Linked DNA regions of Homo sapiens: all the other regions are linked to region 5. The links are contacts of gene promoters, found by promoter capture Hi-C in blood cells and fetal thymus (Javierre and others, 2016). All regions are on one chromosome and are shown on one strand. The core of a region is centred on a gene start or on the middle of the fragment in contact, and the rest is flanking DNA. Distances in the headings are between cores, read along the strand shown. Region 1 overlaps LINC01605 (long intergenic non-protein coding RNA 1605). Region 2 holds the start of SARAF (store-operated calcium entry associated regulatory factor). Region 3 overlaps ERLIN2 (ER lipid raft associated 2). Region 4 overlaps RAB11FIP1 (RAB11 family interacting protein 1). Region 5 holds the start of RNF122 (ring finger protein 122).

Evidence for each region. The method cuts DNA at HindIII sites, captures the fragments that hold promoters and counts their contacts. A CHiCAGO score of 5 or more calls a contact.
Region 1: a contact is called between a fragment that was not itself captured here and the fragment with the promoter of RNF122 in region 5, in 1 of 17 cell types (M0 macrophages). The highest score is 6.5, in M0 macrophages.
Region 2: a contact is called between a fragment that was not itself captured here and the fragment with the promoter of RNF122 in region 5, in 1 of 17 cell types (M0 macrophages). The highest score is 6.2, in M0 macrophages.
Region 3: a contact is called between a fragment that was not itself captured here and the fragment with the promoter of RNF122 in region 5, in 1 of 17 cell types (M2 macrophages). The highest score is 7.5, in M2 macrophages.
Region 4: a fragment that was not itself captured here is called in contact with the fragment with the promoter of RNF122 in region 5 in 1 of 17 cell types (M0 macrophages); the score reaches 6.2 in M0 macrophages.

The regions. Positions count from the first base shown.
Region 1 is chr8:37,571,368-37,576,672 of GRCh38, forward strand. All of the region lies in intron 1 of LINC01605 (long intergenic non-protein coding RNA 1605), which reads right to left. Among named protein-coding and RNA genes, the nearest start is that of LINC01605, 26 kb to the right of the region's middle. RefSeq lists an enhancer at 3,359-3,408. The HindIII fragment of the contact is 1,446 bases long and covers 1,933-3,378 here.
Region 2 is chr8:30,082,629-30,088,418 of GRCh38, forward strand. It overlaps SARAF (store-operated calcium entry associated regulatory factor), which reads right to left and starts at 436. Exons shown (of 6, transcript NM_016127.6): 1 at 219-436. The coding sequence starts at 321. RefSeq lists an enhancer at 1-349 and a silencer at 390-759. The HindIII fragment of the contact is 2,193 bases long and covers 2,950-5,142 here.
Region 3 is chr8:37,746,894-37,752,786 of GRCh38, forward strand. It overlaps ERLIN2 (ER lipid raft associated 2), which reads left to right. Exons shown (of 12, transcript NM_007175.8): 7 at 2,666-2,739; 8 at 2,901-2,959; 9 at 3,502-3,593; 10 at 4,733-4,822. It also overlaps the pseudogene LOC728024. Among named protein-coding and RNA genes, the nearest start is that of PLPBP, 13 kb to the right of the region's middle. The HindIII fragment of the contact is 1,883 bases long and covers 1,636-3,518 here.
Region 4 is chr8:37,878,289-37,883,745 of GRCh38, forward strand. The region is part of intron 1 of RAB11FIP1 (RAB11 family interacting protein 1); the gene reads right to left. Among named protein-coding and RNA genes, the nearest start is that of RAB11FIP1, 18 kb to the right of the region's middle. RefSeq lists enhancers at 1,711-2,425, 2,426-3,139, 3,537-3,646, 5,055-5,174. The HindIII fragment of the contact is 1,330 bases long and covers 1,805-3,134 here.
Region 5 is chr8:33,563,517-33,568,769 of GRCh38, forward strand. RNF122 (ring finger protein 122) reads right to left here and starts at 3,612. Exons shown (of 6, transcript NM_024787.3): 1 at 3,183-3,612. The coding sequence starts at 3,207. RefSeq lists silencers at 2,987-3,036, 3,177-3,226, 3,257-3,326, 3,377-3,496. The HindIII fragment of the contact is 8,620 bases long and covers 1-4,574 here.

The DNA of each region.
Region 1 (5,305 bases), core at 1,406-3,905, 4.0 Mb after region 5:
TCAGCTTTTTATAGTTTCTCTGTCTCCATGCTTAAGGTTGGTCACCTCTGATTGTGTCAGTGTGATCTGCTTAGATCAGCCTTTAATTTGTTGTTTCTAAATGCAGTGGGCTTGGAAACTAAATAGCCAACCATGCTGGGATTGTGTGTTAAATAATCTTAACTAGATTCAAGCAAGGGTCCCCACCTTGAGAGATCTATGAACCTTTAGTGCATGTATTCATTCCACAGTAATTTATCAAGTATGCAGTATGTGCTACTAGGTGCTGGGGATATAGCAGGAAACAAAATAAACATAAAATCCCTTCCTTCATTGGGTTTACATTCTGCTGGGACCAAGGAAAATCGGAGGCATTTATTTTACATACGCAAATGCTGATTTTGGTCACTTACTTGTTCCCTACTGTGTTCCACAGGGGTGGGATTGGTAGATAGTTGAGTGCCCCACGGGTGATATGTTACTGCTCTACTGGCAGTAAATACATGGTTTCTGCAGTACTATTAATAACACAAAGCTCACTGGACGCGCTGGCTCACACCTGTAATCCCAGCACTTTGGGAGGCCAAGGCAGGTGGACCACCTGAGGTCAGGAGTTCGAGACCAACCTGACCAACATGGTGGAACCCCGTCTCTACTAAAAATATGAAAATTAGCTGGGCGTGGTGGCGCATGCCAGTAGTCCCAGCTACTAGGGAGGCTGAGGCAGGAGAATCGCTTGAACCCAGGAGGCAAAGGTTGCAGTGAGCTGAGACTGCACCACTGCACTCCAGCCTGGGCAACAAAAGCAAAACTCCATCTCAAAAAAAAAAAGAAAAAAGAATAACACAAAGCTGATAGAGAGTTATTAGTTCTATAATTCCGACATATTGTGAATCAAATAGGCATTACTGGGCTGGGCTGGGAACTTCACTACCATCTATACCCCGATTTCCACAGGCAAATGTATTCCAAGTTCCAGGCAACTGACTTTCAAATGAACTTTTGGAACAGAACTCATTTGTAAGTTCCAGACTGCCTGTACTTCGCTATAAATGCACCGAACAGCCGGAGCATATTCGACCTAAGGGTTAGAAATGCGAATGTTGGGATAGGAGTTATTTCCCCATTCACTAACGTGGATGCCTCAGGTGACCCACCGACTCCCTCTGAATTTCAGTTCAGACCCTCATCTACTGGGTTTCACTAAGATTTTATTAAATAGACAGGAGTTCTGGTATTTTAAAAGTTCGAAGAACATTATTTAAAAGAATCACTAAGTATTTCTCAAAGCCATGAATAAATAAGGGAATGAAATGAATGAATGGGGAAACTTTCCTGACATTCCCAACACACCTCAAGTGATGTCCCGAAATGAAGAACATTTCCTGGAGGATTGCTTTCTCTTTTTCACTGTGGCTTCTGATCCAAACATTTGTGACAGAAATAGAATGAGTGCCATCACTTCTGGCGATCCCAATGGAGAATCTGGGCTTTGGCAAGACCCAAAAGAAAGAGGCATTTTAGGGGCCGGGCTCGGTGGCTCATGCCTGAATCCCAGCACTTTGGGAGGCTGAAGCGGGCGAATCACCTGGGGTCAGGAGTTCGAGACCAGCCTGGCCAACATGGTGAAACCCCATCTCTACTAAAAATACAAAAATTAGTTGGACGTGGTGGTGGGCGCCTGTAATCCCAGCTACTTGGTAGGCCAAAGAGCGAGAATCGCTTGAATCCAGGAGGCGGAGGTTGCATTGAGCCAAGATAGCGCCACTGCACGCCAGCCTGGCGACAGAGATCCTGTCTCAAAAAAAAGAGGAAAGAAGTGTTTTACAGGAGCCAGTCTGACAGATTATCAAGGCTGGGAATGGACGGAAATGGCTGAGCAGCATGCACTTGTTTGGTTTTTTAAAAAGGAAGCAAACGTGATGCTCAAGAAGAAAATCAAACCAAGAAACAAGCTTCACAAATAATCACTCACCTCCTCCCCAGGGCCAGAACAAGTTTCACTCATAGCTGTAGAAAAGACTCCCTTCTCCTGACTTCCAGGGGGTGGTGCAGGTGTGCAGCCAGCCCTGCTGGGAAGCAGTGCTAGTGCCTCCCAGCTTCTATGACAGGCAGCTGCCAAAGACCCCAGCCCCGAATCTCAAAGTCACATTGTGCTAGGGATGGCCTTTCTCCCACTGCCCTCTCTTCTTCAGCCCCACCCCTGTCCCTCACCCCTGCCTGCCTTTCTGGGAAGGAGGATGGTTTCAGGGAAATGCAGGCACCCCAAGGCCTTTCTTTGTGTAGGCTACATTAATGAGAAACTCAGAGAAGAAACTCTAGGAGACCTACGGAGCTGTCACCAAGTGCATGGGGAGGGAAGATTTATGTTGAGGACCAGGATGTGAACATACCCATGAATTATCCTTCGTGCCAAGGTAAATTGGATGGAGAAAAATATGTGTCAAGGAGGCAGAGACTGGGCTTGCCCGCAATCCTCATAGCACCTGGAGAAAGAGGGTCTCACTTAAATTCACGTAACTACAAAACTATCTGAAGCCAATGACTCTTCCAGGCTTTCTTGAATAAGAATAACTAGCATGGGTTGAGTACTTCTTGTGCTAAGTATCTTACTTGCATTAACCTTCCAAAACTCTATAAAGGTCAGTATTATAACTCTCCCCAAGTCAGAGATGAGTAAACTGAGGCACAAAGAGGTTAAGTAACTTGTCCAAGGTCACACAGCCAGGAGTGTGTGACCTGGCTCTGGTCTAAAGTGAGTATTTAACATAGAGGCACTCATTTCATCTCAATTACAACACAATAAATCATCTACCATTATTACATTTTACAGATGTTAATAGCTAACACTTTTGCACTAACTATGAGCCAGGTATTGTTCTAAGGACTAAGCAAAAATGTGCACACACTCTTTCCCACCATACTACATCATATTGTACCCATGGGAAGTACATAGAAAACTTTGAAGTAAGGAGGAGGGGGCCGATGCGTCCCCTCTCCCCTTAGAGAAGGACACATCCCTTCTCCCCCAGTGGCAGTTACCAGCATTCAAGAGCAAGACTACGGCGACCTTTAGAAACAAGAAACTTGCTCTTCATGATCATGCAAAAAAGACTCAATACTTTCTGTGGAGTCTCAGCAGCCTCTAAGAGGAACAGAAACCGGTGAACGCAAGTGCTGTGGCTACTTTTTGTTTTTAAACTTTTCAGGGGTAACCACTGTGAAACTTGGAGTGTATTTCCTTCCGTCTTTTTCTATGCATCTATAAATAGACCATAGATTTGTAGAGATACATTTTTATATTCTATCTTATTCACTTAGCATTATCTCACAACCATTTTCCTCTTTCTGGGAGGGAATGGGATGTAGTGGTTAAGACCACAGGCTAAACCATCAGAAAGCTTAGGTTCAAATCTTGGCTCTGACACTCTGTGACCTATCAATTCACTGGGACTTAGCGATTTTTTTTTCTACTTTTTTCAGTCTTATTAAGGTATGATTGACAAATTTGATTGGCATAACAGCATAAAATTGTTGAAAAATGATAAATAAAAAGAACCAAACATACTGCCTTTCCTACATGAGCTATATATCAAGCTAACCAAAGAGTTGGTGAGGAAAGCACTTCTTTTTTTTTGTAAACTTTTAAGTCCAGAGATACATGCACAGGTTTGTTATATAGGTAAACTGAACGTCACGAGGGTTTCATGTAAGATTATTTTGTCCCACTGGTAATAAGCATAGCATACGATAGGTAGTTTTTTCTGACCCTCTTGTCAGAGGCTTCTGAACCAGAGCACCTCCATCTTGAATAGATGCTGGGTAAAATGAGGCTGAGACCTACTGGGCTGCATTCCCAGGAGGCTAAGGCATTCCAAGTCACAGAATTAGATAGGCGGTCAGCACAAGATACAGGTCATAAAGACCCTGCTGATAAAAACAGGTTGCAGTAAAGAAGCCGGGCAAAACCCACCAAAAGCAAGATGGCGACAAGAGTGTGGTCAGCCTCACTGCTCATTATGTGTTAATCATAATGCATTTGCATGCTAAGAGACACTCCCACCAGGGTCATAGCAATGTACAGATGCCATGGCAACATCAGAGAGTTACCCTATGTGGTCTAAAAAGGGAAGGAACCCTCAGTTCTGGGAATTGCCCACCCCTTTCCCAGAAAACTCATGAATAATCCACCCCTCGTTTAGCATATAATCAAGAAACAACTATAAAACTGGGCAACCAGCAGCCCTCGGGGCTGCTCTGCCTACAGAGTAGCCATTCTTTTCCTTTCTTTTCTTCCTTAATAAACTTGCTTTCACTTTATGGATTCACCTCAAATTCTTTCTTGTGCGAGATCCAAGAACCCTCTTGGGGTCTGGATTGAAACCTCTTTCCAGTAACATCTTTCGCCCTCCTCTCACCCCACTTCTTTTTTTATTTATTTTTAAAGATTTAGGGGTACAAGTGCAGATTTCTTACATGCATATATTGCATAGTGATGGTGCCTGGGCTTGCAGTGTACTCATCACCCAAACAGGGAACATCATACCCAATAGGTAATTTTCAACCCTCACCCACCTCTCACCTTTTGGAGTTTCCAGTTTCTATTATTATTCTCTATATGTTCATGTATACACATTGTTCAGCTCCCACTTATAAGTGAGAATAGGTAGTATTTGACTTTCTGTTTCTGAGTTATTTCACTGAGGATAATGGCCTCCACTTCTGTCCATGTTGCTGCAAAAGACATGATTTCATGCTTTTTCATGGCTGAGTAGTATTCCATTTTATATATACCACATTATGTGATCCAATCATCCACTGATGGACATATAAGTGGATTCCATGACTTTGCTATTGTGAATAGTGCTGCAACAGACATACAAGTGCAGGTATCTTTATGATATAATAATTGCTTTCCCTTTGGGTAGATACCCAGTAGTGGGATTACTGGATCAAATGGTAGTTCTATTTTTAGTTTGGAAAGCACTTCTGTATAGAATTCCAACTCTAAGTGCAGAAGAAATGATAAAATTAGAAAATCACCATTTGGCAACCTCTGTTCCAATACTTTTAATAACATCTTCCTCGTCACCAGATTTTGGCTAACAGTCTGTTCCCAGTGATTTAGGCTTTTTCCAAGGTGACTTAGGATTTCTCTCAAATGCTCCTCACTTCCTTCTGAGCCAATGAACGTCATGTTTCTAACAGCCTAGCCAAAGTAATGTATGCTTTTTCTATCATCTTCTCAAAATTCTTTCACTGCCCAATTCCAAAGCTGCACCCACATTTTGGGGTTTGTTGTAGCAGCACCCCCCACTTCCAGGTA
Region 2 (5,790 bases), core at 2,796-5,295, 3.5 Mb before region 5:
TCCCGCCCCGCCCACTCGAGCAGTCCCTACCCGCCTCCCAAGACGCCTGGGAAGAGCAGTGGAACCAGGGAGAGCACGAACAGCAAAGAGGTCAGACATGGGGAATCCGGGCACCCAGGCTCCGGGAAGACGGCGCACGGAAACGCAGGGGAGCCTGCACCGGCTGACGGCGGCGGAAAAGGGCGAACGAAGCGCCTGAGGGCCCTGGCAGCACTCACCAGGGTCGTTCCAGCCCAGGGCAGGGCCCGCGGTCAGCAGAAACAAATGCAAGCCGAGGAGCAAGCAGTACCCGGCCGCTCCCGGCCCGCAGGCTGCGGCCATGGCGCTCGATGAAGATGGCGCCGGGCTGCCAGACGCCTACGGGCCGAACCTGGGTGCGGTAGCGCGCGCGACGCTGCGCAGCTACACCGCTACCCCTGGCGGCGGCGAAGGAACGGCCCGACTGCAGAGCTGCAGCCGCAACGGATCCGTGCGCCAACCCTACGTCACTGCCGCTGCGGCCCGTGGGGCTCAGTGAGTGGCCGCCGTGGGCCCCCGCCCCTGGAGCACAGCGCGGCTTGGGGCGGGGCGAGGCGGTGTGGGCGGGGCCAAGGGCCTGGGGAGGCACGGCTGGAGGCGGGTTGGAGGCGTGGCGCCGCGGTGTGGGCGGGGCCGAGGGCCTGTCGCCGCCGCGCCCGCGGGCGGGGCGAGGGCAGCGCGCAGCTTTGTTGTGTCTCGTCTGAGATTCGGGAAGCTTCTGTGCGTAGGCGATGCAGTTTGAGAGGCTGAAAACGTCACGACGCGAAATCTAAGAAATGTAGTCAAATTATGTATTATTAAAACCTCAATAATTGTACCAAGGGTAGTTCTGTGCTTTATTCAGCTCTATGTGTTCAGCACTTAGCATAGCGCTTGGTACATGGTTAGTGTTCTATGACTGGTTGCTAAATACAGAGAAGATTCAAGCGAAAAGTAACAGGGAAATACATTGTCTGGTTTCAAGGCTCAGAACCTTTACATGGTTCCTTGCGCATGGAGGCCGGAAGACTATAAAATGTCAAGAGGAGAAAATATCGTCTGAATGAAGAACCAGCCAGAGAAAACAGTTCTCTGGGCTTTTGAGGTCTAGCAGGCTTGGGTTTCTTTCATTCATTCATTCATTCATTCATTCATTCATTCATTCAATGAATATATGTTGAATACCTAATACGCACCAGGCACTGTTTTAGGCATGGATGGTACAGACAAGATCCCTGTACTCATTGAAATAGAATAGGACAAACGACATACCAATTAAACAACAAAAATAATAGGTAATGATAGGTAATAACATTGATGAAAAACAGGGTGATATAATGGAGCCTGGGGACACAACTTCAGGGAGGGCCTTGCTGAGGAAGTGGTTTTTGAAGCTTGGGACCTGAATGATGAGAAAGAACTAGCCGTACAAAGATCAGGGGACTCATCTTCCCATCTGGGGAACAGTGGATGCAAAAGCCCTAACTTTGTGTTTCGAGGAAGAGTTATTTGGTCAGATCCTATAAAGAGTTCAGTCCCACAAGATGGCCCCAACTTCAGACATCAATCACAAGTCTCAGGTTGTGACCTATGCTTCTGACCAACCAGCTATAAATTAGGGTTTCCAGGCCGGGCGTGGTGGCTCATGCCTGTAATCCCAGCATTTTGGAAGGCCAAGGCAGGTGAATCGCCTGAGGTCAGGACTTTAAGACCAGCCTGGCCAGCATGGCAAAACCCCACCTCTACTAAAAATAGGAAAAATAGCTGGGCGTGGTGGTGCACACCTGTAATCCCAGCTATTTGGGAGGCTGAGGCAAGAGAATCGCTTGAACCTGGGAGGCGAAAGTTGCAGTGAGTCAAGACTGCCCCACTGCACCTGGACCATGGAGAGAGACTCCCTCTCAACAAATAAATTGGGGTTTTCATAACCCCCCATCTTGAGTTCCATAATTTGCTAGAATGGCTCACAGAACTCAAAAAAACACTTTATGTTTACCAGATTATTATATTGAGCACCTATTAGTACCTAACAGTACCTGCCAGGCACTGTTATCAGTATTGGGGATACAGCAGTGAATAAAACAAAATTTGGGGGACAAGAGGCAAACAAGGCCATAACTGAAGCAAAGTAAGTTAGGGGAAGAGTGGAATAAGAGATGGCAGAGCAGTGGGGCCTCGGCATGGAACCAACCAATGCTGGGACCAAGGACTGAAATAAGAGATAATAGAGAATCTATGCTCAACATGTTAAGTTTGAGGTGACTATTAGGCATCCAGGTAGACGTGTCAAATAAATAGATAAACTGTAAAAGTCTGAAGTTCAAAACTAAGGTAAATTTGGTAGTTATGTTGTAAATATAAAGATAGCATTTAATGTCATGATGCTATTGTTTGAATGTGTCCCCCAAAGCTCATGTGTTGGAAACTTATTCCCCAAAGCAATAGTGTTGAGAGGGGGGACTCTTAAGGGGTGATTAGGTTATGAGGGCAGAGCTCTTAATGCTATTATCACAGGAGTGGGTTAGTTATTGGGGAGTGGGTTCCCGATAAAAGGGATGAGTTCAGCTCCCTTTCTCTTTTGCCTACCACCGTGAAATGACACAGCAGGAAGCTCCCCACCAGATGCAGGCCCCTGGACCTAGGATTTCCCAGCCTCCAGAACCATAAGAAATAAATCTCTATACTTTATAAATTTCCCAGTCTCAGGTATTCTGTTATAGCAACACAAAATGAACTAAGACATGTGGGAAGAGACACAGTAACATGAGAGAATTGAGATACCACAAAAAAGGAGGCCCAGGCTATGGAAACACTAACATTTGAACCTCAAGCAGAAGATTCTAGAAAGAATCTGAGAAGTAACCTCTGGTGAAGAAGGAGGAAGAACTAGGACAATAGGATATGGTAATTGAGAGAAAGAAAGAATGGTCAACAGTGTCCACTGTTGCTGAAAGCTTGAAGCAAAATTTGGTCTCTGAATTTTGCAATGTAGAAATCACTAATTACCTTAACAAGAGAATGTTTGTTATTTTAGATTCCCACCATGTACCATGTACAGTTCTGGACAGTCATGAACAAAAGATGAAAGGTTGTTATAATAAACATTCTAGTGGGAGAGGTAGCCAACAAATCATGTCATTTCAAATAAATAAGTGCTTTGGGCCAGGCACGGTGGCTCACACCTGTAATCTCAGCACTCTGGGAAGCCGAGGCTCAGGATCACTTGAGACCAGGAGTTTGAGGCCAATCTGGGCAACATAGTAAGACCCCATCTCCACAAAAAATTGTTTTTAAAAAATTAGCCAGATGTGGCCAGGCACAGTGGCTCACGCCTGTAATCCCAGCACTTTGGGAGGCCGAGGTAGGCAGATCATGAAGTCAGGAGATCGAGACCATCTTGGCTAACACAGTGAAACCCCGTCTCTACTAAAAATACAAAAAATTAGCTGGGCATGGTGGCGGGTGCCTAAGTCCCAGCTACTCAGGAGGCTGAGGCAGGAGAATGGTGTGAACCCGAGAGGCGGAGCTTGCAGTGAGCCAAGATCGCACCACTGCACTCCAGCCTGGGCGAAAGAGTGAGACTCCGTCTCAAAAAAAAAAAAAAAATAGCCAGATGTGGTGGCATGTGCCTGTAGTCCCAGCCACTCAAGAGGCTGAGGTGGGAGGATCACTTGAGCCCTGGAGGTTGAGGCTGCAGCAAGCCATGACTGCATCACTGCACTCCAGCCTGGGCAACAGAGCAAGACTCTATCTCAAATAATAATAAGTACCTTGAAGAAGAAAACAGAGCAATATGACAGGTAGTGCCATAACAAGTAGGATGGCCCAGAAAAGATTCTCTGAGAAATTACCATTTGAGCTGAGAGCTAAATGATGAGGCTGTAAAAGGAAAAAACAAACTGTTTTCTCCTTTCTACTGGCACAAAACACAGAGCAGTTCTGTGACCAGAAGAGGGGCTGGGGGAGTATTTCCCTACACACCAACCAACTCTAAAGGACATCAACACGATGTCCTATAACTCAATTCAAGTTAAGGGCCCAGTCTCCCACAAGACTGCCCCAATTCAGACGTCAGTCCAGGAAAATATTTTATGTTTACCAGTTTATTGTAAAGGATTTATAAAGGATACAGATGAACAGCCAGATGAAGAGATGGATAGGGCAAAGATAAGAAGGCCATGGGGCTTCCATGCCCTCGCTGGGCACTCCACCCTCCCAGCACCTCCCTGTATTCAGCAACCTAGAAGCTCATGAAATCTTGTTGTCTAAGAGTTTGTATAGAGCTTAATCTCCAGCCACCCGCCCCCGATCTCTCCTGTTGGTTGGTGGGTGGGCTGAAATTTCCAACCCTCTAACACTCTAATCACATGGTCTTTCTGGTGACTGACTTTTTGGTGTCTGTAAACAATACAGTATAACAACTATTTACATAGTATTTACATTGTTATTAGGTATTATAAATAATTTAGAGATTATTTAAAGTATACAGGAGGGGCTGGGTGCGGTGGCTAACACCTGTAATCCCAGCACTTTTGGAGGCCCGAGGTGGGTGTATCACTTGAGCCCAGGAGTTCGAGACCAGCCTGGGCAACGTAAGAAGACCTTGTCTCTACAAAAAAAAAAAAAAAAAAAAATTAGCCAGGCATAGTGGTGCATGCCCGTGGTCCCAGCTACTCGGGAGGCTGAGGCAGGAGGATAGCTTGAGCCTGGGAGGCAGAGGTTACAATGAGCCGAAATCACACCACTGCACTCCAGCCTGGGTGACAAGAGTGAGACCCTGACCCAAAAAAAGATTTTTTTTCCTCTGAGCTTTCTCTGAATCAACCTGTAAGAGTTAGTAATTCTCAGTTTACAAAATTGTGAAGAGGATTAAATGAGATGAATGCTAAAGCACCAGGCAAATAGCACCTGCTGAAAAAGTAAGAATTCCCTTCCTCTCATCCACATTCTCATCTCCACCATTTAACTTTGGAGAATGGAAAACCATCCATATAAGAAGTATTGAAACTGAAAGGTAACACTAATTAGCTATTACATAACAATAGAGAACATTTAAAGGATATGACATTAACTAGCATTTAGGGTTCCCTTGGAAAACTGGTGGAGAAAACTGACATTCTACCTTTTTTCCGACAATGACTTTCAAGCTTTGCTTTAGTTTGCACAGGAATTGTTTGAGATTCTTGTTAACTTTTCAGATTCCGGGCTTTACCCACAAGAGTTCTAAATTCAGAAGGTCGGGAGTAGCAGTCAAGAATTTGGAAGGCATCCCAAAGTATTCTGCTTTAGGTGGTCCTTGAAATACAACATTTAGACACACTGTTTTTAAGGTCTCAAGTGACTGTGAGAGGTGACAACGTGCTAGCAGCCCTCGCTCACTCTCGGCGCCTCCTCAGCCAGGACGTCCGCTCTGGCCGCGCTGGAGGAGCCCTTCAGCCTGCCGCTGCGCTGTGGGGGTCCCTCTCTGGGGCTGGCCGAGGCCGGAGCCGGCTCCCTCCTCTCCCGGAGAAGTGTGGAGGGAGAGGCGCGGGCGGAACCCGGGGCTGCGCCCGGCGCTCACCGCTCGCGGGCCGGCGCAGGTTCCGGGTGGGCGCGGGCTCCACGGGCCCAGCACTCAGCGCAGCTGGCCGGCGCCTGCTGGGCTTGATCAGAGGCTGGGTCCCGTGCGTGCACCGCCATTCCCTCTTCGCAGGGTCGTTGGCCAGAATGGCGGGTCTCCCTCTCTTTCTCGCTTCCCCTCTTTTCCTCTTGGTTGTCTGGGACAAGCTCCTTCTGGGCTACTGGAGCACCCGG
Region 3 (5,893 bases), core at 1,327-3,826, 4.2 Mb after region 5:
CTTCAAAGGATCTGACTTGCTATACCTAAATATAATTCACGCTGCTTTTCTCTATGACGTACCATAATATTTTGTCCAAAAATCTTGAAACATGTTATTAACTTTGAAGAAAGAATAAAACCAGCCACTTTAGAGACCAGAGACACTCAAGCACTTATCTATTCATAAAGTTTCTACACAGCTGAAGAAGTTTGCATCAAATGGACAAAAAATAGTAAAGAAAATCTAAATACAGAAAAAAAATTAGAGAAAAATCCATCTCCTAGAAAGCAGGTCAAATGGACTCAGTTAAAGACCTCACTGCATGTAGGAGAATCAATGGGAAACAACATAAAGCCTTCTGCTGGGATATAAATAGGAACCAGTCTATGTAATCAAGAAGTTACTTTGTCTCCTGATCTAAATGCTTGCCTCCAGTCTAGGGCTCAGAAAAAAAGCCTGGTTATTTGAACTGGTTGTCAATCAAGGTCCCCTTCATTTTCACTTTCTTGGCTTCCCATTCAGCCAGCTCTTGCAGTGGCCTCTTGCTCATGCCTTTGCGCTCCAGCTGTTTTTCAATCACTTTGGCATTCTGTGCATACGAGTCAGCAACTTCCCTAGCCTCAATCTCCTCTTCCTCTTCATCAATGGTAGACACAGTGACAGAACTGAACTTGCCCATGTCTTTGGTCCGTTTGGTCATCATCACCTTCTTAGGAGGCTCTTGTTTCTGAGTATATATGTTCGTTTTCCCAAAGCCCTGGCCAAACTTGACGACTGCTCCATCCACAATGAAGGTAACGGGAGCATTCTTCGGCTGGGATTGGTAGAAGAGCAGCAGTCCACACTTTGCACATTTCTTTCTGTACTGTAGTTCAATGCCTTCAGGTCTCCGCAGATACATAGTCTCTTCGTCTTCTGTGTTACAAAACTTATGGGCATGTTTGGCAGCATCAATCACACGGGACCGGTCCCGGGGCCTCATGGGCAATTTCTCTAACTGACAGTCCAGCACTAGGACCACCTGGCCGCACAAACAGTAGTACACATGGAGGGGCTTCTCGCCGTCGTCATATTCCTCCCGGTCCCGAGTGTCAGAGCAGACTACTGACCGAGACACTACTTTCGGCATGGTTTCCAGGAGCAACCTGAAAAACTCTACGCAAAGAAGAGGGTCGCGCCGAAATGACGTCACGAGCGCGCCTTGCGCCTTTTCCCTGCGGCTACCTTAGTAATACAATTTAAATGGCATTTATCAACATTTCCATAACATATAAACATCAATATTACTAAAACAACTTGAAAAGTATTTCTTTCACATTTTTCCGGTAAGCTACTAGCCCAGGGCCACAGGTTTCCACCTTGACAGATATAATTTGGTCTGAGGAATGACGTTATTAACTTATGGAGGATACGGGCCATTTAAAGTTTGGTTGGTATTCTACTTAAAATTACTTAAAATATGAAATGTAATATTTAGTTCTAGTTGTTAAATTGGTTGACCCCTGGCAGGTGTGAGGTGCCGACTTGATGGCATTTCTCCTTCGGTGCTCAGAGGCTTGTGAGAGCACATCCTATATGTGGAAACGTTACCGTCCCTTGTTTACTGATACTACTGTCTTAAAATCCTAACAATCAAGGCCCACCAGTTAAACAAGCTTGTTATTTTTGCTACTAGCCAGCTTTCATGGGCCTCCGTTTTGGCATCAGTGAAAGAGCGGAGACTTTCTCTTCCTCAGAGGCTCTTATTTGAGCACAGGTGACCACGAAAGGACCACTTAAAGCAGATGGCGGCTGACAGCAAAGGAGAGATGCAGTGTACAAGTCCCAGCCTGATTTCACTCTGTCTTTTTCTCTAAGCCCCTCCGGGATCTTATCAAGGATATCATGGGCAGAAGGCAAGGAAGAGGATTCTAAAACCTGAGAAGCCCATGCCAGAGAAGTCAGCTTTGGTACTGCTGTTCTGAGATTGCAGCTGGAAAGGAAGGTGGGGGGAGAGTCAGTTACAGCTGTTCCTACATTTGTCTGTGAAACAACTCATGTGGATTCCAGACAAAGAAATCAGGACCAAAGCAAACAGCACATCAAAAGCCTGGGGCTCGCTTCCAGAACTGTAAATTTTAATTTTCCCTTTGTGTTGTTTGATGGAGTTCCTAATAGAAACAGTCTTCCTTGGGGCTCTCCTTGACGTCAAAGTCTGTTTTTCTTTTAGAAACTTCTAAAATTACTAGATTTAATGTGCTCAGCTCTTTCCACAAAACCTAAATAGCCATTCCACCTTCCTTCTTCTTGGAAACTGTGAACCTTCCTTCTCTTTTGCTGCTATTGTCTAGGGAAAGGCTGCTGCCTCACGCAAGAAATGTGCTAGAATTGTTTGTTCTTCCTTTTTTTTCTTTTTAAGCTCTCACCCCCTGTAGGGCATGGTTAGTATTTTCAGAACAAAGGTTGAGTTTTATCTTGAGGCACAGAAAGAAAATGCCCTTGCGTTCACCATGTAGAGGGCTGCCTGCACAGGCTGCTTCAGAAGTTGGGCAGGGGATCTTTAGATTTGTGGGCTTTGATAAGCACACTCCCTTGGGAAAGTACATTCTTGAGCTGGTGATTGAGCTTGCACTTTACCTCATCCTGCCCTCCCTCATCTAGAAAGTGTAACAACTCCTTTTTCTCCATCTTTTCTTTATTCCAGATCAGATTGATGAAAATCTCAAACTGGCTTTGCAACAGGACCTGACCTCCATGGCCCCTGGGCTGGTCATTCAAGTAAGCATTGCTGCATGGGAGCAGCCCCTCTCTCTCTGACACTGCTTCCCTTCTCCCAAGGGATGTCCTTTTTGTGCAGGAAGATCAAGGCCCAGTGGGAGCTGGGTGTGTCCCTCACTACCCTCACTTTCCCATCAGCTGCTGTTTTAATCTCTCTCCAGGCTGTGCGGGTAACAAAGCCCAACATACCAGAGGCAATCCGCAGAAACTACGAGTTGATGTGAGTATACCCTCCGCCTGGGCTGTGACCACCACTGCCTCCCACCTCCCACCTCGTCCCATCCCAGAGGTAACCAAAGCTGCCAGGCTTCTCGGTTATCCCCTTGCTGGAGGATTTGCTACAGCCCATTGCACTGTAAGATTGGGCAGGCGTGTCAGGGCCACCACTGGGGCTCCCTACCTGTGATTGAGAACCCCAGGATAATCCCTGTAGAGCAGCGATGTTTTGAAAAGGGCCAGGGGGCCTTGTTTGTGTTCAGTGACTCATGCCCAAGGTGGAGACAGGAGCAAGAGACCAGTAAGTGGACAGGCAGGTGTATTTTACTAAATTATGTTTTATTTCCCACAAATGAGTTACTTGGGAGGAGAAGAGCTATGTTACTGTCAACAACAGATCAGCTTTTACCTGGGCCATCGAACAGCCTTCCAGGAGGAGTAGGAAATGGGAGTTTGCCTCTCTTCAGCAGAAGAATTCGACTTACCTGGGGATAGTGAAGCTCCTGAGTTTTCCATAGCTGCCTCACGGCTTTTTCTTCTCTTCAGGGAAAGTGAGAAGACAAAGCTTCTCATTGCCGCCCAGAAACAGAAGGTGGTGGAAAAGGAAGCAGAGACAGAGCGGAAGAAGGCGCTCATTGGTCTGAATGTGGTTCTGTGATCCCCCTTTCCAGGCAGAAAGGCTGGGGGTGGTGGGAAGATGCAAGGAGGCTAAGGCCTGGTGAGACCCCATGGTCCTCCAAACCACTTCCACAGCACAGGAGTGGCAGGTGGACTCCCAGAAACAAAGTTGAAATTGTCAGATCATGGCCAAGGATAATGAGTTTTTTGAGTTTCCACTTAACTCTTAAATGAAAGAAGCCCCACCTGTTAATTCTTTCTTTTTTTTTTCTTTTGAGACGGAGTCTTGCTCTGTCACCCAGGCTAGAATGCAGTGGCACGATCTCAGCTTACTGCAGCCTCTGCCTCAGGTTCAAGTGATTCTCCTGTCTCAGCCTCCTGAGTAGCTGGGATTACAGCGGGTGCCGGCACGCCTGGCTAATTTTTGTATTTTTAGTAGAGATGGGGTGTCACCATGTTGGCCAAGCTGGCCTCGAACACTTGACCTCATGATCTGCCCACCTCAGCCTCCCAAAGTGCTGGGATTACAGACGTGAGCCACCGTGCCCAGCCTGTTAATTCTTAATAATAATGGCTAATACTTAATTAAGCAATTACTGTGAGCCACATACTTTTCTAACCACTTAATATGTGGGTTAAGTCAACCCTCACAACCACTGTGGAGGTAGGTACTGTATTATCCTTAACCTCATTTTATCGAACCAAAGCACAGAGGGGTAAAATACCATGCCCAAGGGCATATGGCAAGTAAGGGGTGGAACTGGGGTTCAAACCAAGGACACTGGCTCTAGAAGCTATGTTCTAAGTCACTGCACCGTATTATCAACAACTAACCTGACCCCTGTCTACAGTGAAGGGCCAGGTAGAACCCTACTAGAGTACTTCATTCTTACAGAATATTCCTTTGGGAGAAGTTCCCTTGTGAAGTTAGGGCTCATGCTTCCTATGTTGGGCCCAGGTCTCCTTGGTTACTGTCTCACACTGATGGAAGGGGACTGTGCTCACTGGCATATCCCACTCTGCCCTTGTGTGCACTCACAGCTGCCCTCTGGGGGCTCTCCAGACAAGCTGGCCCACCAGGACACTCAGCTCGGGTGAAAGGTGAAATTAGTCAAACTCTGAAATGCCAGAACCGTAATCCTCACTATCATTTATTCAGAGGCAGAAAAAGTGGCCCAGGTGGCTGAGATCACCTACGGGCAGAAGGTGATGGAGAAGGAGACTGAGAAGAAGATTTCAGAAATTGAAGGTAAGCAGAAGTGGCAGTCATGCCTGAGTCCTCCTCAGACCCCGCCCTGTGGCCAGTGGGTTGGGGAGCCATTGCCTTTGCCCTTTAACTGTGCTCAAGGATGTCATGATCTCTGTGCAACAGCAGCTTTTCTCCATGTGGAGACTTGAGTTTTGAGGCTATTGTGGCCAGGCTAGCATCTGTTTTCTACTTCAGAGAGCATTTGTTCATTCAGCAAATGTGGCTGGAGTGCCAGTATGTGCCCAGGATTTTGTTAGGCATGAGAAAAAGGAAGTCCCGTAGACCCTGCTTTCTTGGAGTTCCCAGGCTAGCAGGGCCTTGGAGCGGTGGGAGTGTACTCTCAGCAGTTGGCTCTCCCCCTTGCCTTAGCTACTTCTGCTCCAAAGTTGGTCAGTGCCACGGTTTTGGGCTCAAAGTCTGTTCTCCAGGTCTATGCAGATATTAAGCCAGGTTTGAAGAAGACAGATTTTCAGCACCTGTCAGACAGGAGCTGGAGAGAAAGGTTTTCTTTGCTGGCTTTTCTGAATATCATTCACCTTCTGTTCCTGCTTCTAAGCCTGCACCTCCTTCCCACTGCCCACCTCTTACTTCTTGGGGTGGCTTATTTCAAGCAAATTCCAAGGCACAACTGGGACCTCAAGGCCCAGCTTCAGGCTACAAAGTGTTATGTCTAATTATACTCATTATTGGGCCTGTCAGGCTTTGCAGGGGCCCATAGAGGAGCCAGTTAGGATTTCACAGATCAGTGGCTCCTCATTAGGGAGCTCTTAGCAAAGCAACACGTTTTTATTTCTCACAAATACATGTCATCAAGTGCTCAGGCCAGCTGAGGGGGCCCCACAGCAGCCAGAACCCTGGCTGGACTGCAGGTTCCTTCCACGCGGGGTCACACTGAGGGCACTCAGTGAAAACCCACCCACAGACTAACCTTTCTCCCAGGCATGTTGCTACATATATTACTCACATGAGGCTGGCCCGTTCCCAAGACAAGGAGGTAAATATCAAAAATTTTCTATCAGCTTGACAGAAAGCTAGTCTCAGAGCTGATTAGGGAAGAATATGACTTGCATA
Region 4 (5,457 bases), core at 1,220-3,719, 4.3 Mb after region 5:
CTTTGGGAGGCTGAGGTGGGTGGATCACAAGGTCAGGAGTTCGAGACCAGCCTGGCCAATATGGTGAAACCCCATCTCTACTAAAAATATAAAAAATTAGCCGGGTGTGGTGGCAGGCGCCTGTGGTCCCAGCTACTCAGGAGACCGTGGCAGGAGAATCACTTGAACCCAGGAGGCAGACGTTGCAGTGAGCCGAGATCGCACCACTGCACTCCAGCCTGGACAACAGAGTGAGACTCCATCTCAAAAAAAAAAAAAAAAAAAAAAAGCAAAGATCATACACAAACAGTTAAGAAGGGTGGCGTGCAAATGATGTATAATTAAATCTCAGAGAAAATCAAGTTTGTAGTAAGGAATGGTCCCTGCCAGGGAGTAAAAAAATAATAATAATACAACACAGAATTAAAAAAAAAAAAAAAGTGGGGAGGGGGTTGGGCATGGTGGCTCACACCTGTAATCCCAGAGATTTGGGAGCCTGAGGCAGGAGGATCACTTGAGGCCAGGAGTTCAAGACCAGCCTGGGCAATATTGCGAGACTCCATCTCCATAAAAAATTAAAAAATTTGCCGGCATGGTGGTGTGCGCCTATACTCTCAGCTACTCAACATGAGCCTAGGAATTCGAGGCTGCAGTGAGCTATAATTGCACCACTGCACTCTAGTCTGGGTGACAAAGTGAGACTCTGTTTCTAAAAATAAATAAATAAAAATAAAGAATTTTTTAAAAGAGTGAAATCAGGCTAGGCACAGTGGCTCACGCCTGTGATACCAGTACTTTGGGAGGCCGAGGCAGGCAGATCACCTGAGGTCAGGAACTCAAGACCAGCCTGGCCAACATGGCGAAACCCCGTCTCTACTAAAAATACAAAAATTAGCCGGGCATCATGGCGAGCACCTGTAATCCCAGCTATGCAGGAGGTTGAAGCAGGAGAATTGCTTGAACCCGGGAGGCGGAGGTTGCAGTGAGCCAAGATCATGCCACTGCACTCCAGCACTCCAGCTTAGGCGACAGAGCCAGACTCCATCTCAAAAAAAACAAAAAAAAAAGTGAAATCAGTCAGTTAGAAAATGACAAACACTATATGAGTCCACTTATGTGAGGTTCCTGGGTTAGTCAAATTCATCCAGTCAGAAAGTAGAATGGTGATTGCCGGAGGAGGGGAAGGAGAGAATGAGGAGTTAATGTTTGATGGGTATAGAGCTTCAGTTGTGGAAAATGAAAAAGTTCCGGAGATGGATGGCGGTGATGATCACACAACAATGTGAATATTCTTAATGACATTGAACTGCACACTTAAAAATGGTTAAAATGGGGCCAGGCGCAGTGGCTCACGCCCGTAATCCCAGCACTTTGGGAGGCCAAGGCGGGCAGATCACTTGAGGTCAGGAGTTTGTGACCAGCCTGACCAACATGGTGAAACCCCATCTCTACTAAAAATACAAAAAATAGCCGGGTGTTGTGCCACATGCCTGTAATTTCAGCTACTCTAGAGGCTGAGGCAGGAGAATCGCTTGAACCCGGGAGAGGGAGGTTGTAGTGAGCCAAGATCACACTACTGCACTCCAGCCTGGGTGACAGAGTGAGACTCTGTCTCAAAAAAACAGGTTAAAATGGTAAATTTAATGTTACATATATTTTACCACAATAAAAAAAATGGTTAGTTGGAAAGGAAGCCTTCTTCCCTAGCTTAATAATCAGAAAAAGTCACATTTCAAACACTATCCAAGAATTACACTTGGTCATTTGCAACCCACTTCAAGATGTGAAAAATGACATTATACCAGTCCAACTCCACTGAGAGACAAGCTTCAGAAAAAGGAGATCTCATGGCATTCATTTTCCATTTAGGAGCCCTATACCTTTGGTGAACTGTAAGAATGTGAGCCAGGTTGGGTACAGTGGCTCACACCTGTAATCCCAGTGCTTTGGGAGTCTGAGAGAGGAGGATTGGTTGGATCCAGGAGTTTGAGACCAGTATAGGCAACAAGGCAAGATCCCATTCTCCAAAAAAAAAATTTTTGTTTTTTTGAGACAGAGTCTCGCTCTGTCCCCCAGGCTGGAGTGCAATGGCGCGATCTCGGCTCACTGCAACCTCCGCCTCCCGGGTTCAAGTGATTCTCCTGCCTCAGCCTCCCGAGTAGCTGGGACTACAGGTATATGCCACAATGCCCAGCTATTCTTTGTATTTTTAGTAGAGACAGGGTATGGTTAGACAGGCTGGTCTCAAACTCCTGACCTCAAGTGATCCACCCACCTTGGCCTCCCAAAGTGCTGGGATTACAGGCATAAGCCACCAAGCGTGGCTAAAAATATTTTTTTTTAATTAGCTGGGTGCAGTGGTGCGTACTTAATAGTCCCAACTACTTGGGAGGTTGAGGCAGGAGGATCACTTGAACCCAGGAGTTCAAGGCTGTAGTAAGAGCTATGATTGCACCACTGCACTCCAGCCTGCGCAACAGAGTGAGACCCTATCCCTTTCAAAAAAAAAAAAAAAAAATGTGAGCCCAGTTTGTAGCAAGACCATACAATGGGACAAATAACTCCAAATACCTGGTCTATAGTGAGCTGTCCACCAGGTCACCCTCACAAACTGAGAACTCACATTCTGAAGTTCTTTTCGGTGACCTATTTAAGAGCGGAAGGTAGTGGACTTAAAGGAAATGATGGTTTTGCCCAAATGAGCACAACTTCCTCTTTCACCTTCAGCCATGGCTGGTGGCTCGCTCACAGGGCAGATCCCTGCCCCCACTGCTACGGCTCCTTCTACACTTAGAGGAAAGGCACAGGGGAAAGTCGAAACCTAACACCTAAACAGCACCTGTGGCATACCTGACACTGCCTACGCACAGAGACATCTTCATTTCAGCCTCACAAGAACGACACGGAGTAGATATTATACCCATTTTATAGATGAAGAAATTGAAGCTCAGAGGTCTGAGAACTGGCACAAGGTCTTGCAACCACTATGGGGTACAGCTAGGATTCCAAATCAGTTTCCCCTATTCTTTCTCCTATTCTTTCCCCTACACCAAGACTCCTGCTTTAAATTCTCTCCTAATTTATCTTGGATGGGCCATCTTTTGTAACATAGAGAAAAGAGGGTTCAAATTTAAATTCTTTTTGAGAAACATTTAAGCTTCTCATTTAAATGTCCAAAGATGAAAGAAGAAAGGAAGGAAACTAACATAGCTTGCCATCAGTCATAAATCGTTGAGATTACTTAAAGGCCAGTATACAAAGTCATCAAGAAGAACTTAAAATGAATTCACAAAATACAGCAAGGAGAGGATAAAATTATATGAGCTATAATTTTGGACCCTTAGGAGACAAATCTTTTATGGTTTTTATAACCTCAATCCAGAGCTGGGCAGGCGGGGAGTGGTGGGTGTTGCAAGACGCAAGGTCTTTTTTTATTTTTTATTTTTTGCAACAGGGTCTCACTCTCTTGCCCAGGCTGGAGTGCAGTGGTGCGATCATAGCTCACTGCAGCCCTGGACTCCTGGGCTCAAGTGGAAAATGCAAGGTCTTTATAGACAATGTCACCCTTGCCAGCCTAGTGTCTGTCCAATACATTTTCCAGGGCCTGGCCTGGAATTGTCTGCATATTTGTCACTTCAATTTTGAGAGGATTATTTATATTTTTCTCTTCTGACAGTCATGTGGTAAATGGTAGCCTTGGTGATGAAGGGTGTTTAGCTTTTGTAAATACCAGTTGCAGGCACCTGAAAAGGAGAAGTTGCTGAACGCTAACTGAGGAGGTTTCGATGACCTCACCAACCGCAGGCGGGCAGCACGCTTCACCTCCCCGCCCAGGGCAGGAGCTTCAGGCAGGGGTTTCTCCACAGCTCTTCCACACGGGCCCTTCTATTAGCCCTCCACGGGGATGCACAAATGTGACAGGCCTCCAAAGCAGCTGTCAGAGGCATTCAAACCAGTGCAACTCCATCTTGAGTGAGGGCTAGGAAAATGAGGCTGGGACTTGCTGCGCTGCATTCCCAGAAAGTTAGGTATTCCTAGCCTCTAGATGTTTATGGGTAAGGGAACAGATGGATAATGTTTACCAAACAGACCCAGACTTGGGAGTGTTCTAATATCCCCAAATCTGGAGAACAAAGGCTATCCTAATTTTGCTTTGAAGCTAATAATATTGATTCTCACAAAATATAGTAATTAAGAAAATTAATCCTTTATCACAAACCCTTGTAGTAGGGCACATCTCTCAATGATCTTTTTATCCTGTGTATGAATAAGCATAGTGCCTAGAGTGGAGGTGTTCCTCCTCTTACTTTCGGGAACGTCCTACTCTGTCTATGGAGTAGCTGTACCTTCAATACTTTGCTTTCTTAATAAACTTGCTTTTACTTTGCACTGCAGACTTGCCCTGAATTCTTTCTTGCGGGAGACCAAACACTCTCTTTTGGGGTCTGGATCAGGACCCCTTTCCTGTAACATAGCCAGTTGACAATTCCAAGGGCCAGCCTTGCCTTTCCGAAAGTATCAGTGAGGTTTTCTTTGCACTTCCTAATGGTTTTTGAGCAAAACTACAACCGATTCCAGAATCCTCCCTCGGGACCAATTATTACCTGATTCTCAGGTCCAATCCCTGGGTCCTAAAGTGGGATTTGCTTTGGAAACTTCCAACACCATTAGGAAGTGCAAATATAAACGTCACCAACTGTTCTTGCTGCTTAATTTCACAAGCAAACCTAAAGCCAAACACCAGGTAGCCAGGCACCAGCCACGGGGCTATTGAAGGATATGAAACAGGCTGAATCACAGGCCAGCAGGGAAACAGCCCAGGCAAAGAGGCAGAATTTACAAATCTGTGCTCCATGTATTAAAGCTGGAAAGCAAAACAAGAATTGTTTCGTTTTTTTTTTTTTCTGGTTTTTTTTTCTTGGTGTTTGTTTGTTTGTCTGTTTGTTTTAGAGACTGAGTCTCACTCTATCGCCCAGGCTGGAGTGCAGTGACGTGATCTCAGCTCACTGCAACCTCCTCCTCCTGGGTTCAACCGATTCTCCTGCCTCAGCTTGCTGAGTAGCTGGGATTACAGGCGTGCGCAACTATGCCCAACTAATTTTATGTTGGCCAGGCTGGTCTCAAACTCTTGACCTCAGGTGATCCGCCTGCCTCAGCCTCCCCAAGTGTTGGGATTACAGGCGTGAGCCACTGTGCCCAGCCAAGAATTGTTTCTTTTACTAGCAATATTATCCTCAAATTCAAAAACAGTTTAAGCAAGGGATGTTTGATAGAAGCATACTTTGATAAGACAGTGAAAGCCACAGTGCTTGAATATCTTGCCCTAAGAAATCCCAAACCAGAAGAACACATCTGGGGATTTTTATATTTAAGATCAACCCAGTTTCTAAGTGTTACTGCCCATGTGTTTTTCAGTTCACTTAATTCCTGCACCTCACAGAAGTAGCTCATAAATAATAAAGTCCCAGCCTAGCAACA
Region 5 (5,253 bases), core at 2,362-4,861:
TTGTGTCTAGGCTCTAGTAGGGGTTAGAGAGAAAGTGCTTTTCACCACCAGTCCCCACCCAAATATTTACTTTCTGTGGGTCAAAGAAGAACAATTTTCCATGAGGACATCATGGCAGACTGGCTAGAGTGACAAACTTCAGTCTATGCTGGAAAAGGGGCTCAGGACTTCCCTTCCAACAAGACCTGGTGCTCCCAGCTGTTTTCTCACCTCCTTCCCCCGCACTATTTGATGTTACAAGAGGGTCTAACCCCCCGTTTCCTTAGTTCTTCCAGGCACCTTTTATGAGCTGAAACCTCCTTTGGTTTCCAGTTCTGGGAACTTGCAGAACCTGGTCAGAGCTATTACAGAGGATATCTGTGCACTCCACAAGCACGATGGTCCCCGCAAGTCCTCTGATCAGTTTATCCCCACCAACTTATCCTGCCTGATAAAGGCTTCCCCTTTATCTCCCACTGATTGAATCAGTGAGCTTGGTATTTCACGTGATAAAGAGGTCGGTGGGAAGAGCATAGTCAAGAGGAGATGGTTCATTTGCTTGTGTTACTATTAAAGAAATGGCAAAATAGTCTACTGGTCAAAAGCTGACACTGTAGTAAGTTTTTCTTTAAAACTGTATAAGGACAGAGAATACCAGCCCCAGGAAAGAGGGGCTCCAGGTAGTTTCTGAAGGGGTGAGGGAAGGGTTGCTTCTTCACAGGAGTCAAAGGACAGGATCTCTCAGTCACTTTTCTAAGAAGTGCAAAGAGGGCCAGACAAGGTGGCTCCTGCAGGTAATTCCAGCATTTTGAGAGTCCGTGGTGGGAGGACTGCTTGAGCCCAGGAGTTCAAGACCAGCATAGGCAATGTAGTGAAACCCTATCCCCAAAAAGTAGATTAATTAATTAATTAATTAAAAATTAGCCAGTAGCCAGGTATGGTTGCACACACCTGTGGTTCCAGCTATGCTGGGAGGCTGAGGCAGGAGGATCCCTTCAGCCTGGGAGTTGGAGGCCGCAGTGAGCCCTGATCGTGCCACTGCACTCCAGCATGGTTGTCGGAGTGAGACCCTCTCTCAAAAAAAAAATTAAAGTAGGCTGGGCGCAGTGGCTCACGCCTGTAATCCCAGCACTTTGGGAGGCTGAGGTGGGCAGATCACCTGAGGTCAAAAGTTCAAGACCAGTCTGAACAACATGGAGAAACCCCCTCTCTACTAAAAATACAAAATTAGCCGGCCATGGTGGCACATGCCTGTAATCCCAGGTACTCGGGAAGCTGAGGCAGGAGAACCGCTTGAACCCGGGAGGCGGAGGTTGTGGTGAGCCGAGATCACACCATTGCACTCCAGCCTGGACAACAAGAGCGAAACTCAGTCTCAAAAAAATAAAAAATAAAAAATAAAAAAAATAAAGCAGCAAGTCTAAAATCTGATATGAAAGGGCGCTGCCCAGAAAGGGCAGTGTTACTGACAGCTGCCTCATTTCTCCCTAAGTCTCTGTTCCATTGTCTCGGCCAACCTATGAAAGCACTGACATCAGAATGTCTCATCTCATCTGGCAGGCTGGGAGCAGGAATGACGTCAGACAAGGGCTGGCCAAGAAAGACCAGGGGATCTGGGAACTGCTTCTCTTTCCCAGCCAACGGGAATCTTTCCCAGATGCTAGGGTGCAAGGGCCTTCCTCAACCCCCATCCTCTGCCCCCTCTCCCACAAAACCGCCTATCACACACGGCTTGGTTCATTTTCAGGAAATGAGATCCGACCAGCAAAAGGAGGAAGGCGGGGTGGGGGGATGTGGGGTATACATGCTACCCAAACCCTGCCTCAAAACAAAGCCTCTTGACATAATTAATCCAAGATCTGGCAGGAGTCTACTCTAAAGAATGATTTTTTTCCCCCTGTAACTAGCTCGCTTGCCATACTGAGAGATAAGGCCAGCTGCTTCCCATCTCTCTCTCCCAGAAACTCTCCAAGCATCGGAACAACGCGGTCAAGACTAGGACCCCAGGAGGACTGGAGCGGGTGGGGTGGGGGGCGATTAGTATCCAAGGTTTTGAAGTGTCCCGCTCAGAAACACCTACCTTTCAGGTAGCTCGCTGAGGAATCAGACTCCAGCCTAACCCAGTATCACCTGAACCTCCAAAAAGCCTCAGGTGAAATGAACTAACTTAGAAGCATCACCCAGGCCTGGGGAGAAATGGGGCGAGGGGTTGTCGCGTCTGGAGGTGTGGCCTTCACTTGGGCTCAGGAGCAGACACCCTAATCTGGCCTTGTGGCCAGAAACACGGCTCCCGCCAGGCCAGCCTCGCACCCCAGGGACAGCCGGGCGCGGAGCTCTCTGCGAGGGTTTATCAACTCAGGAAAACGGCTTTTTTTTAGATGGAGTTTCGCTCTTGTTGCCCAGGCTGGAGTGTAATGGCACGATCTAGGCTCACTGCAATCTCCGCCTCCTGGGTTCAAGCGATTCTCCTGCCTCAGCCTCCCAAGTAGCTGGGCTTACAGGCATGCGCCACCACTCCCGGCTAATTTTGTATTTTTAGTAGAGACGGAGTTTCTCCATGTTGGTTAGGCTGGTCTCGAACTCCCGACTTCAGGTGATCCGCCCGCCTCGGCCTCCCAAAGTGCTGGGATTACAGGCGTGAGCCACCGCGCCTGGCCGAAAGCGACTCTTTAATCCAGTCTTCCGCAAGCACCCAAGCCACGCCAGCAGCCCGTGGGAAACCAACAAAGCCAGAGGAAGCTACCCCCGCGCCCAGTCCCGCACGCTGCACGGTATACATATTTACAATAGCCTGCAAAGTTTCAGGCCGGGAACTTGAGCTCCCTCTAGGAGATCCCAGCCCGAGTGCGGATTTAATTCTCCTCCAACAACCACAACAAAGAACAGAGTTTGAGCGCACAAAGGCAGGGGAAGGGGGTAGAAGAGCCGGGCCGCCACACAAAGGCCGGGAACCCCTCGGCTCCCACGCCCCCGGCCCGCCGCCAGTCCGGAGGCCCCTTCCAGGCTCTGGAGTGAAACCTGGATAGTTTCAAATTCCGCGCTGTGCAGAGCAGAGTGGGGCGCCAAGACGCCTTCTCGACTGTCCCATTTCAGGAGAAACTTGGTTCCCGAGGGAGGACCAGCGCGCTGCTGTCCGACCTCGCACCCCGCGCCGCGGCTCCCACCAGCCCCACGTAGGCTCGGCCCTCGCCCCGGGGACTCACCGTTACACCACTGGAATGGGTGCATCAATGAAGTCGCGGTTGGCTTCCTCGGGCGAACGGACGCAGGCGGGGTGCCAGGAGGGCGGGGTGGGAGCACTAGCGGCGTGAGGGGCCGCAGGCGGGGTCGGGGCAGCGCGCTGCAGCCGCCCTGCTGGAGAAGCCGAACTCCCTCCGGAGTGGGGGGCTTTGACGAGGCTGGTGTTCAGCCCAACAAAGAGGGACGAGGAGGAAACAAACAAAGTCCCGCGGAGCACAGCCGCACGGAGCGCACGCGCCAAGGGCCCCGGGCTGGGGGAATGTGGGGCGCCGCGGGGCGGGGGTGCCCGGGCTGCAGAAGCCCTCGGCCGGGGGAGGAGGGAAAAACCTTTGCCGGAGGCTCGGATCGGGTTCAGCGGCGCAGAGGTGAGCTGGCTGGGGTTCCGAAACTGACACCCGGCGGTGCACACCCCCTCCCTTTTACTTCCCCCACCAGTCCCCAGGAAAACTCCGCCCCTTGTTCGTCACCCTCCCTCCGACCAATCGGAGCCTTTCTCCTGCCCCCGGCTATTATTTGCAGGCCCAGCCTCCCTTCCCTGGAAGCCGGGAGGATCTTCGCACGGTGGGCGCCTCCCACTTAGTCTTCCCAGGCCTGGGGAAACTTCGGTCTGCAGAGAATGGAGCGGCGACGAGCGATGCCCCGGAGTGGGGGCCTGCCTTTTGCCCAGGGACACCAAGGCAAAGGAACAATTACTGCCACATTGTTTTCCGCCTACAGATCTGTTATTTATTTACTTATGTATTTGGAGGCAGAGTCTGCCTCTATCGCCAAGGCTGGAGTGCAGCGGCGCGATCTCAGCTCACTGCAACCTCTGCCTCTCGGGTTCAGGTGATTCTCCTGCCTCAGCCTCCTGAGTAGCTGGGATTACAGGCGCTTACCACCATGCCCAGATAATTTTTGTATTTTTAATAGCGACGGGGTTTCGCCATGTTGGACAGGCTGTTCTCGAACTCCTGGCCTCAAGTGATCCTCCTGCTTCAGCCTTCCAAAGTGCTGGGATTATAGGCGTGAGCCACCGCTCCCGGCCCTCTTTTTCTTTTTTGAGTTAGAGTCTTGCTCTGTCACTCAGCTGGAGTGCAGCGGTGCAATAATAGCTTACTGCAGCCTCCAACTTCTGGGCCCAAGCAGTCCTGCCACCTTAGCCTCCCAAGAAACTGGGACCACAGGTGCCTGCCACCAAGCCCAGCTACTTTTTAATTGTTTTGTATAGATGAGTGGCCTCACTATGTTGCTCAGGCTGGTCTCGAACTCCTGGACTCAAGTGATCCTCCCGCCTGAGCCTCCCAGATTGCTGGGATTACAGGCATGAGCCATGGCACCCAGGACATTTCATTTCTTAATTGGATAATTGCAAAAGCTTCCTAACTGGCCATTCTGATTCTAGTCTATAGCTCAGACTTCAGAGCCTACAAGAATCACTCCTATGTTTGAGATGTAACATGCAGATTCCCAGGCCTTGAACCCAGAGATTCTGATTCAATAAAGGGTGGACCCAGAAATTTTCATTTTAATGTGCCTTGTCTTCCCCACCCCTCAAATTCTCATGCGGCTATTGAAAGAAACAGTGCTCTGATTTCACTCTCAAGTCCATCCCTTCTGGTCACAATTATCTCTGTAAAATGTAAATCTGAACATTTCTTTGCTTGATAACGTTTGTTGGTCTCCAGTGTTTACTGAATAAAGTTCTGTAAACTAGAGTGTGGCATTCAAAATGTTTCAGTCTAGACTCACTCCTATAATCTCAAAACTTCGGGAGGCTGAGGCGGGCAGATTGCTTGAGCTCAAGAGTTTGAGACCATCCTGGGCAACATGGTGAAGCCACCTGTAAAAAAAATACAAAAATTAGCTGGGCCTGGTGGTGCGCACCTGCGGTCCCAGCTACTCTGGTGGCTGAGGTGGGAGAATCACTGGAGTTCGAGAAGTCGAGGATGCAGCTGCAGTGAGCTGTGATTGTGCCACTGCACTCCAGCCTGGGCGACAGAATGAGACTACTCTGTTTCAAAAAGAAAAAAGAAAAAACTATTAAAATAAAGT